3 separate regions of the Homo sapiens genome follow, and all the other regions are linked to region 3. The links are contacts of gene promoters, found by promoter capture Hi-C in human tissues and cell types (Jung and others, 2019). All regions are on one chromosome and are shown on one strand. The core of a region is centred on a gene start or on the middle of the fragment in contact, and the rest is flanking DNA. Distances in the headings are between cores, read along the strand shown.

Evidence for each region. Contacts are between HindIII fragments. The study calls those that stand out against the background at their distance.
Region 1: a contact is called between a fragment that was not itself captured here and the fragment with the promoter of CRTC3 in region 3, in 1 of the 25 tissues and cell types used here (spleen).
Region 2: a fragment that was not itself captured here is called in contact with the fragment with the promoter of CRTC3 in region 3 in 5 of the 25 tissues and cell types used here (H1 embryonic stem cells, aorta, dorsolateral prefrontal cortex and 2 more).

Annotation. Positions count from the first base shown.
Region 1 is chr15:90,016,849-90,020,709 of GRCh38, reverse strand. The region is part of intron 1 of ZNF710 (zinc finger protein 710); the gene reads right to left. Among named protein-coding and RNA genes, the nearest start is that of MIR3174, 12 kb to the right of the region's middle. The HindIII fragment of the contact is 6,651 bases long and covers 1-3,861 here.
Region 2 is chr15:90,239,752-90,243,296 of GRCh38, reverse strand. It overlaps GDPGP1 (GDP-D-glucose phosphorylase 1), which reads right to left. Exons shown (of 4, transcript NM_001013657.3): 4 at 1-2,397. The coding sequence starts at 2,388. The coding sequence ends at 1,231. It also overlaps a transcript of CIB1 not described here. Among named protein-coding and RNA genes, the nearest start is that of GDPGP1, 7.3 kb to the right of the region's middle. The HindIII fragment of the contact is 7,306 bases long and covers 1-3,545 here.
Region 3 is chr15:90,528,468-90,531,959 of GRCh38, reverse strand. It overlaps CRTC3 (CREB regulated transcription coactivator 3), which reads right to left and starts at 2,037. Exons shown (of 15, transcript NM_022769.5): 1 at 1,757-2,037. The coding sequence starts at 1,888. RefSeq lists an enhancer at 934-1,093 and silencers at 1,484-1,663, 1,684-2,433, 2,534-2,583. The HindIII fragment of the contact is 24,563 bases long and covers 1-3,492 here.

The sequences.
Region 1 (3,861 bases), core at 505-3,004, 510 kb after region 3:
CACTTTGAGAAAAAGGAAGAGCATATTAAAATTTAAACAAAGCCCACCCCAGGGGAAACATGCAGCCTCCTTCTCCCAAACTGCGCCTCTCATTTCCAACACACATGAGGCGTCAGGTTCACAGAAACCGAAACGTCCCTCATCTCAAGGGGCTGGGGTTTGTGTTTTTGTTTTTTGTAACCCATCCCGGCAGCAGCTGGCATGCTGTGTCTCCCCGGGGGCGGGGAGGCAGTTCGGGCCTCCACCAGCCCCCATGGCCTTCTTGGCAGAACTGAGAAGAAAGGGTGGGCTGGGCTTGGGCCTCAGCTGGGACAGCCCTGCCTGGACGGAAGGGTGCAGGGGCGTTGGTAGCAGAGCTGGAGGAGGGAAGGGGCTGTGAGGTGCCTGGATGTGCCCAGTCCTGAAGGTGGGCACCAGTCTAGGTCCCGGCAGGAGAGAAAAGGGAAGAAAGAAGCTCAGCCCACAGGAAGGGCCCCAGAGGCCCCATGAAGAATGCGCTGTCACGCAGGAGGAAGACAGCGGAAAAGGAGGAAGAGCCGGTCAGCAGTGGGAACAGGAAGGTCCGATTTAGACCACGTAAATGCTACTTCCTCAGTAATTCCATCAAACTTCCCTCTGTTCCCCACACCAAGTGATGACGAAGAACTGGGCTTCAAGGGGCTGAAAGTCTGGGCAGAGGCACTTCCTTGGCCTGGACTCCTGGGCTAGAGTCTGAGGCCTCCACAGGAAATCCTCGGCTCCCCCACTCACCGCCCCCCAATAAGCACCAACCTAGTCTCTGGATTAGGGCAGGATGTTTGTTTAGGAGCATTCTCTTGGAAGAAAGACCAGCCTAAGTTCTCTGACAGACTCTGGAATCCTCAAAGCCAGCTCTCTGTCCCGGGCACCCTAACGGCTGGCACCAGAGAAGGTTACCCTGGGGAGCCACAGGCCTGCAGCTTCCTGGGGTCATGGGAGGCAAGACAGGGTCTCTGGGCCCAGCCCTCGCACTCCCATTGTAAAGCGACGGGCCAGGATGACAGACTCCCTTTCCTAGGTCAGCTGTGCCCGGAGTCTCTCAGGCCCTTCCTTGCCATTTACTCTCAGCCAACCTGTATGACCCGTGAGAAACATTAGGAAACAGAGGTCTGAAAGACTCACAACCATGTTTAAAAGAATGGGAGTTAGTATTTGGCTAAACAGAATCCAAATATGATACAATGTGTCTGGGGGCAATTTACCCATCTAGACGAACAGCCTTTAGAATGTGTCCTTGGCCCAGTGATTCTCTTCTGGAGATGTATCCCAAGGAAATAACCAAGTCTGTGGGCAAATATACCCAAGGATGTTTACCACAGCATTCTTTACAAGACAGAAACAGAGGAAACAAGCTAAATGTAGGAGATTGGTTAAATAAATGATAGTCCATCTGTTCAAAAGAACTATACAACCCTTTAAAGTGACTTGACGGAGGCTGCTTAACCTGATGGAAATTTTAATCACATGTTGTAAAGTAAAAGCAAAAAAAAAAAAAAAAAAAAAAGAAAGAAAAAGTAATAAGATGGTACAAACAGTATGATCTCATCTTTTGAAATTGAAAAATATTCTGGGGGGGCTATACAATATACTAAAATATTAATAATTATAGGTGGTTTTTATCTTTTTTGCCTACTTATAGTCCCTAAATTTTCTGCAATAATCATCAACCTCTTTGTAGCAAGAAAAAAAAATCAATAAAAGCTATTTTCTAAAAAACAAAAGGAAGAGATACAAGATCCAAGAGACTGTTCATTCCTTGGGCATTCAAATCTAAGATGGATTAAAAAACAAACAAACAAACAAAAAACCACTAGACAGAGACATCTTAAATCCACCTAAGAATATTTAAGAATATTTTCAAGGTGGTTTCCAGGACAGGGAAATTAGAATCCTCCAGAAGGCCCTACTGAGCACAGGAAGACTGAGAGCCACCAGCAGGGAGACACATCCTCCAGCAACGTCCATGAAGACCCAGGGCCCAGCTTTCCTGTGTGGGCCCTTCCAGTCACTGTAGCTGAGTGGGGAGGTGAGGGGCAGGCAGGGGCCAAGGTGCAAAAAGGCAAAGCAGACATGACCTCTGTCCTGGTTTACGGAAAGGGCAATGGCCGTTTCTTTAGACAGTGAATTCAAAGAGGAGGCGAAAAAAGGCCAGTTCTTAATCTGAGATTTGTTAATCTAGGTGGCGACAAGAAATGAATTTTTACAACCACGGTAGGAAAACCCCAGCTGGGCGCGGTGGCTCACGCCTGTAATCTCAGCACTTTGGGAGGCCACGGTAGGCGGATCACCTGAAGTCAGGAGTTCAAGACCAGCCTGCCAACATGGTGAAACCCCGGCTCTACTAAAAATACAAAAAGTAGCTGGGTGTGGTGGCACACGCCTGTGATCCCAGCTATTCAGGAAGCTGAGGCAGGTGAACTGCTTGAATCCGGGAGGCGGAGGTTGCAGTGAGTCGAGATCACGCCACTGTCCTCCAGTCTGGGTGACAGAGCAAGACTCCATTTCAAAAAAAAAAAAAAAAGAAAAAAGAAAAGAAAAGCCCCAAAACAGGGATTTGGAAGAGAAATTCTAACAAGCTCTGTAATTGAAGCAAAAGAACACAGCTGATGTTACACAGAAGTTTTTCTGGGGGAGACAGAACACAAGAAGATGATGGAGCAGAATGCTGGGTAGGACGTCCAGAGCGCTCACAGCACACTGTGAGTGAGAAGCTAGCCTTTGCTAAGAGAGATGCCCTGGAGCCCAAGGAAGGAGATTCCATAGGGCATGGCCTTAATTATTCAAGCACCAGGAAAACCTGAGGAGCAGTGGGGAGGTGTCTCAATGTTGCCGGTCCCTTTATGATCAAAAGCCAAAAGCTTTAAAGTCTATTTCAGATATCAAAATGCATCCATTTGGGAACCGTTTCCTGGGTGCTTCCCATCCATTCTCGAATTCTGCAAACAACTGGGCACTGATGAGTATAAACTTTCCAGGGGAACAGCACCATGCTGTTCAAGACACTCCCACCTTCACCAAGTAACCAAACAAAAGTGGACAGGATGGGTCATTAGGATGCATCCCTTGCAAGATGCCAAGCAGTATAGTGACAGGATGTTGGACATGCCAGCTCAGGCCCACAGATCCCGAAAACTTCCTACCCCCGAGAGCATTCCTCAGCCCAAAAGGACCCTGCTTCTTTCTTAAAGAATGATGACTCCAAGTTAGAAAATAAATATGGCACCACACACAAGGACAGCCGGAGCTGGATGATTTTGTATCTCTTAAAGACATCAAATTCTTCCCCTGGTGAAGCTATAGCCTGTAAATTACAGCCTTGTATTATATATGGCCAACACTTTCAGCTTTGTTCTCCATACAGCATTTCTCATCAGCAAGGAGGAAGCAGTCAATACCCTACTTTGAAAAACAGCACAGGTGGTTCTGGGAAACAAATAATAAAAATGCACCTCTCCCTCCCTTTAATTAAAGACATGCTATCCAATGGCACTTCTGAATAGAAAAATATTTTTAAAAAGTTATTCTCCCAGAATCTTCCAAGTACCAAGTGCCTTTACCCCTAAAAAGTTCCCTGCCATAAAACAAAGTGAATGCACCAGCTTAGGGAGCCAGGAAATGCTCCCTCAGCACCTGGCAGCAGCTGGCACCTACCTGAGGCCAGTTTACAGACAGAAAGAAAAGCTCCCTTGAAATAACGCTAAGGTTCAGACATTCTGATAAAAGCTGGGAACTTCAAAGGCAGGACTGCAGAGCCAATCCGTAATCCTCCTCGAAGTGTCTGATGTGGCTGGCTGGGCTCTGGGCTTGCCTTTACCACCTACTGCCTGAGCTTTTGCCCCGTAG
Region 2 (3,545 bases), core at 1,046-3,545, 290 kb after region 3:
TTGGTGTTGGGGGCTAGAGGAAAGCTCAAGGTGGCAGGGAAAGTGAAGGAGTGGGGCATTTGGGTGGAGCAGGGCTAAATGGAAAGAAGGGACAAAGCAATAAAAATAAGTGGTGAGCAAAGGGGAATAAACAGGCTGAGAACAGAAGTGGCAGCTCAATACTGGAGGCACAGGCACTATTACCGTGCTAACATTTGATATCAAAGGAAGACAAAATCTAAATGTAAAGTCAGGAGTGTGTAACTGTCACACACACTCCTTTTTAACACCCCTGGGGCTTGAACAAGAACGGGGAGAGGTAGCAGATACATTCATGATGTCTTACTCAGTAGAATTATTCCAGATTTTCTCCCCTTTAAAGAGACCACTATCAGCTCCCCTTTAAAGAGACCATTATCTTTCTCCCCTTTAAGAGATCATTATCAGCTTTCTTCATCCTTCTTCTTAGGCTGAGACAGGTGAGAAGGCAGCCATGAAAATAAATGTCCAAAGGACTATGATGGACAGTGCTCTGGAAAGGGACTCATCAGGTAGAAAATGAATACATCCTGGCTGGGTGTGGTGGCTCACGCCTGTAATCCCAGCACTTTGGGAGGCCGAGGCGGGCGGATCACCTAAAGTCAGGAGTTCAAGACCAGCCTAGCCAATGTGGTGAAACCCCTTCTCTTTTAAAAATACAAAAAAATTAGCCGGGTTTGGTGGCAGGAGCCTGTATAGTCCCAGCTACTCGGGAGGCTGAGCCAGGAGGATCACTCGAACCCTAGAGGTGGAGGTTGCAGTGAGCCGAGATTGTACCAGTGCACCCCAACCTAGGTGACAGAGCGAGACTATCTCAAAAAAAAAAAAAAAAAAAAAAAAAAAAAAAGAAACAGAAAAGAATCCAGGGGCTCACTCCTGTCATCTCAGTACTTTGGGAGGCCGAGGTGGGAGGACTGCTTCAGCCCAAGAGTTCAAGACCAGCCTGGGCAACATGGTGAAACGCTGTCTATATAAAAAAATACAAAATCACCTAATCGTTAAAAAAAAAAAAAAAAAAAAAAAAAGCCAGGTGTGTGGTGGTGCACGCCTATAGTCTCAGCTACTCAAGAGGCTGAGGTGGGAGGATCACTTCAGCCCCAGAGGTGGAGGCTACAGTGAGCCAGGATCATACCACTACACTCTAGCCTGGGGACAGAGTGAGACCCTATCTCAAAAGAAAAGAAAAAAAGAACATAAATACATCCAGAAGTATTATTGCTCTTCCTGGGACATCAGGGCCACCAGTGCTGCCTGTACGTCTTCTGCCTGGGATGGGGGCAGCCGACAGTCCTGAATGAGGGCCACAGCAGCTGCCTCTGTCAGGCTGCTGAAGTCCTGGGATGTTTTGACAGGGAGGTGCCCAGCCAGCTCACAGAGGGCAACATTGAAAGCTTCACCGTCCTTTATCCCAAAGCTGGACTTCCGGGCCCACAGAATTACTCGGACCCCTGTGAGGGCTGAGGAAGGTGATGTCTTTCCCGGCGGAGCTCCCCGGGTGACAAACAAGTTATGAGCAATCTCATGGTCAGTCAGATAATCAGTGGCCCGACATACCCTGCTTATCAAGGACTCCAAGTCAGGCCCTGGCCCACGAGTGTAAAAGAGGAAGCCAGGAGCTGGGAGGTCCTGGAGCAGATGCAAATGGCCTCCAGGGTCCAGGGGCTCGCTTGGCGCCTGCTCCACGGGCAGTCTGTGGGCCAGGTAATAGCCATGCAGGTGGAGGTGGTTCACCGAGGCCAAGCCTCCCAGGCTGTTGAAGCCGACACGGAAGCCCGGGTGTAAGCTCAGCAGCACAGCCTCAATCCCTGCCCTCAGTGCACCCGGCAGCAGGCGCTGGGGGAGCTGGCGGGCAGGCTCAGGCACCAGCAGCACGTGGCCCCACTCCAGGGGGCTGACGTTGATCACCACCAGGATGTCTTCTTGCAGCAGAGTCCCAGGGAGATCAGGCTCCCGGTGCAAACGGAAGAGGACTTCTCCGGGCCGGATCTTGTTGAAGTTGAACTGTACAGGGTCAAATGCCTGCCTCACACTCTTGATGGTCTGCGGGGGCCTCCTCTGCACACCACGCTCCACATTCAGCTGAGCCACGAAACCCACAGCACCAGGGAGGATTTGGGTCTGTAGCTCCCGTAGACGGTAGCGAAACAGCCCCAGCTCCACCCGCTGCTTCCAGGCAGAGCAGAGTGCAGCATCAAAGGGAGATTGTGGCAGAGCATCTGGGATGCCAGGTGCATTCCTTGGCCACTGAATCCCTTCTGCCATGAGATCCTTCTGCCCATAAACAAAGTCAGGAATGGTTTGCCTGCCCCAGTCCTCATTGTTGGGAGGCAGCAAATAGGAAGTTTCGTTTGAATCATGTGGAAGAGCCATAGAGCTGACCTGAAATAGTCATAAAAGATGAAAACACATGATGGTAACCCACCTCCAGAGATTGTCATTGTATTTATTTATTTATTTTTTTTTTTGAGATGGAGTCTCACTCTGTCACCCAGGCTGGAGTGCAGTGGCAGTGATCTTGGTTCACTGTAACCTCCGCCTCCTGGGTTCAAGCGGTTCTCCCGCCTCAGCCTCCTGGGCAGCTGGGGTTACAGGCAGGCACCACCATGCCCGGGTAATTTTTGTATTTTTAGTAGAGATGGTGTTTCACCATGTTGGCCAGGCTGGTCTTGAACTCCTGACATCGGGTGATCCCTTTGCCTTGGCCTCCCAAAGTGCTGGGATTACAGGCATGAACCAACATGCACAGCTTATTTATTTATTTTTATTTTTTTGAGACAGAGTCTCACTCTGTTGCCCAGGCTAGAGGGCAGTGGCGCGATCTTGGCTCACTGCAACCTCCACCTCCTGGGTTCAAGTGATTCTCATGCCTCAGCCTCCCAAGCAGCTGGAATTACAGGCACCCGCCACCAGGCCCGGCTAATTTTTGTATTTTTAGTAGAGGCAGGGTTTCACCACATTGGCCAGGCCGGTCTTGAACTCCTGACCTCCGGTGACCCTCCCCTCTCGGCTTCCCAAAGTGCTGGGATTACAGGCCTGAGCCACTGCACCTGGCCTATTTATTTATTTATCACTCTGTCACCCAGGCTGGAGTGCAATGGCGCTATCTTGGCTCACTGCAACCTCTACCTCCCAGGTTCAAGCGATTCTCTGGCCTCAGCCTCCCAAGTAGCTGGGATTATAGGAATGTGCCACCACAGCCAGCTAATTTTGTATTTTTGGTAGAGACAGGGTTTCACCATGTTGGTCTGGCTGGTCTTGAACTCCTGACCTCAGGTGATCCACCCACCTCGGCTTCCCAAAGTGCTGGGATTACAGGTGTGAGCCACTGCGCCCAGCCACGGCCTATTTTATTTTGAAACAGGTTCTCACTCTGTCACCCAGGCAGGAGTGCAGTGGTGCATACATGTCTCCCTGAAGCCTTGACCTCCCAGGCTCAAGGGATTCTTTCACCTCAGCATCCCAAGTATCTGGAACTACAGGCATGTGCCACCAGGCACTGCCGAGATCGCACCATTGCAGTCCAGCCT
Region 3 (3,492 bases), core at 788-3,287:
CTTGAAAGTAAGTAAACAGTGAGGATCTGTGAAAAATTTTTGCTTTTAAAAGAGAGTCTGTACATTACTCATGGCCTCACCTGTCAGGGATATTTTAAAGAAGATTCATGAATTGGGTGAAAGATTGGATCCGCCATAGGTATACAGACATATACAGTGCATGTATTTGTACATAAACAATGTACAGTATGTATTTAAAAACACATAACAACACAGGCCCCAACACTAATCCTCAGCTTTCACCCACCCATTCTTTTCAACGTGCTCTGAGCTTATCGAGTTCATCTCTGAATCTAACCAAGGTCACAGATGTAAATGCCAGTGGATGCCAGGCAGGTAAAAAATGAGTGAAGCTGATAGGGTATAAGAAAACATTTTCTTGAAATCTTCAGCTTCTTTCTCTCTATATATATATTTTTTCTCAATGTGAACAGAAATGTAAGTACAGGAAATATTTCACTTTTTCCTTAACTTCACTGAAAGAAAACACCATCATGAGTATAAATGGCAACTGTCACCTAATCTCCCCTTGGGGGACTGTGACAGAGAGTGGACGGTGGCAAACTAGAGTTCTTACTCCATTTGAAAGGGAGCTCAGCTCAGCTCCCTTTCATCATCACCCAGCTCCAGCAGGTCGGTAGCTGTCATGTAGGAATTCAGAATTAGTGTTACCAGGTCTCCCAATTTTTAACATATATAAATAATAATAAATAAATAATACGGAAATTTGGATTTTGTGTGGAAGTCTTCCAATTTAAAAATTCTGGCAACAGATTCAATAATTTTTCCCAAACACTGCGCTGGCCAAAAAATAATGTGTCTGCAACTCAGCTGGTTTGCAACTCTGCTCTCAGCTCTCCTTCAAACTGTCTCCCCCGCCTCAGTCCCCCAGAATCTGCAGATCCTCCCCCATCCTCCCGATGGTCCTCCAAGGTCAGCATTCAGGATCCTCAAGGCCAGCCCCACTCCTGCTGACCCCCCTTCTCTGCAACCCTGCGCGGACACTCCGGTTGGCTCTCCATCCTCCACTGCCTCACTCAGCGGTTACCTAACCTCTCCAGGTGTTTGTCCCGGCTCGCGCCTTACTCATTCCTCCAGGTCCCTCTCCAGTCACCAGCGACGCTTGTCAGTTCTCACTAAATATCCCGGGCCGAACAAAGTAAACTGGACCCGATAAAGCACCTCCAAGGAGTAAAAGGAGCAGAGCCTCACACTCGACACGGAATCCCGTCGTGGTTCCAACAACCCGAGCCACCCCAGGGCCGGGCCCTGGATGGACTTGTGCACAGAGCTCCCCCCACGAGCGCGTGGGACCCTGGGGTGCCCGCGGCCTTCCACGCCGGCAGAACAGCAGGGCTCGATGGTGGGGGATGTTCGGAGCGACCAGAAGCCGCGCCGCGCCACCCGGCCGGCCTCCGAGCTGTTTGCGATTTCCTCTCGGGGCTCCTCGTCCTCCTCCCCCTCAGGCCGCCCTCGCACGGCCGCCCGCCTCCACGGGCTTCACCCCTGCCCATCTTCCCGCACACGGGGCCGGGCGACCCTCCCACCTCAGCCCGGGATCGCGAACGGCTAGCGGGTGTCGCCAGGCGGGGAAACGCCGAGGCCGCGGCCGCTCCGGTCCCCCTCCCAGCCGCCGGTTCCCGGGCGCGGCCCCCGCCCGGCCCCGCCATCGCCTTGGCCCCGCAACCTCTCACCCGCCGCGCGGGTCCCGCCCGCGGCCGTGGCCGCCCCCGCCCGCGCCGGCCCGGGCCCTCACCCGCGACAGGGTGAGGTCGGTCATGAGCTGCTCGAAGGCCCGCGTCTCCTCGGCCTGTCTCTGCGTGTGCAGCGCGATCTTCTCACTGAACTTCCGCGGGTTGGCGCTGCCCGAGCCCGGCGAGGCGGCCATGGCGCGGACTCTGCGCGGGCAGAAGCGGGAGACGGCGGCCGTGGGGCCTGTACCTCGGCCCACCCGTCCGTCCACAGGCCGCCGGGGCCGCCGCCCGAAGCCAGTCGTCCGGCGCGACCCGGCAGAGGAGCCGCCGCGGCCCCGGAGCCAGCGAGCGGCCGGGAGCGCGCCGAGGTCCGCCCCCGTGCGCCCGGCCCCGCCCCACCCTCGGCGGGGCCCGCCCGGCCTCCAGTCTGCCCCGGCCCCACGCTCGCGGGCTGAGGGCTGCTCCCCGCTTCCCGGTCTGGCTCGGGACCCGCCGCCGGCGGCCACCTGGAGGGACCCCCGTCAGCCCGACAAAGTGGCCCCGGCGTACGGGGAACGCTGGGGTGCCACTCCACGGAGACTCTCCGACCCAGGGATGGCCTCTGCGTCTACGCGACGTGGAGAACACAGCCTGTGCCCGCATCCCCCCTCCCCCAGCCAAATTACGAAGATTTTCTTCTCCAGGTGGAACCTGGGCGACCGGACCTCGAGCAGGTCACCTCGGGCCCCCGCAGGGGGTGCGCCCATTTTGCCTGGGGCCTAACGTCTGCCCGCCAGCCCTGCCGCTCCAGGCCCCCGGCCTCCAGCCGCTGGTTTCCTGACCTCTCACACCCACCCCTCCCCGCTCCAGTCAACCAGAGCTGTATCTCGGCTTTAAAAACTGCCTCCTATTCTGCACAAACTACAAACACCATCCAGCCCTGCTGCAGCCTTGGCTCCATAGCCCCGGCCCCCTTTCCAGGTTCTTTCCAAGTCTCCCTACGGCCTCTCCACTCCTGTGGCAGCTTCAGCAGGTGCCAGCCCCACCTTGGGAAACCAGCGCTCAGCCTCAGCGAATTTCCCCTTCTTTTGGGGGAGTGAATGGATGTCTTTCTCTGTCGCCCGGTCTGGAGTGTAGTGGTGCGATCTCGACTCACCGCGGCCTTGACCTCCCGGGCTCAAAAGATCCTCCCACCTCAGCCTCCCGACCAGCTGGGACCACAGGCGGGGGTCACCACGCCCGGCTAGTTTGTAAATGTTTTTGTAGCAATGGGGGGCGGGGGTGGGTCTCGCTATTTTGCCCAGGCTGGTCTCGAACGCCTGGGCTCAAGCGATCTGCCCACCTCAGCCTCCCAAAGTGCTGGGATAACAGGCGTGGGCCACAGTGCCCGGGGAGTTTCCTCTTTGGAGTCCAGAAGCTACTCTCAGCATAAATGTTGATGTGCACAAAGATGTCCCGGGGAGCCCTGAGCGTGTGTCAGTGTTCTGTAAAGAGGGAAATATTAGAGGCCTACGGAAGAGTACGGAAAATAATATTAATACTACCCACGCCCCCCACTATCAAGATTAAACAGACATCAATACATTTTGCTGCATGTACTTGGGATTTATTAAAGACATACAAAATTAGTCATAACGACGGCCCCACTCTCATTTCTTCTTCCGCCCCACAGATAGTCACCGTGCTCAAGTTGGTACATATCATTCCAGTTTGTGTTTTTATACTTTTATTACATATGATGTAGAGATCCAGCAATGCTATATGGAATACCTAATTTTGTTTTTAAACTTTACAAAAATGACACCATACTGAATAATCA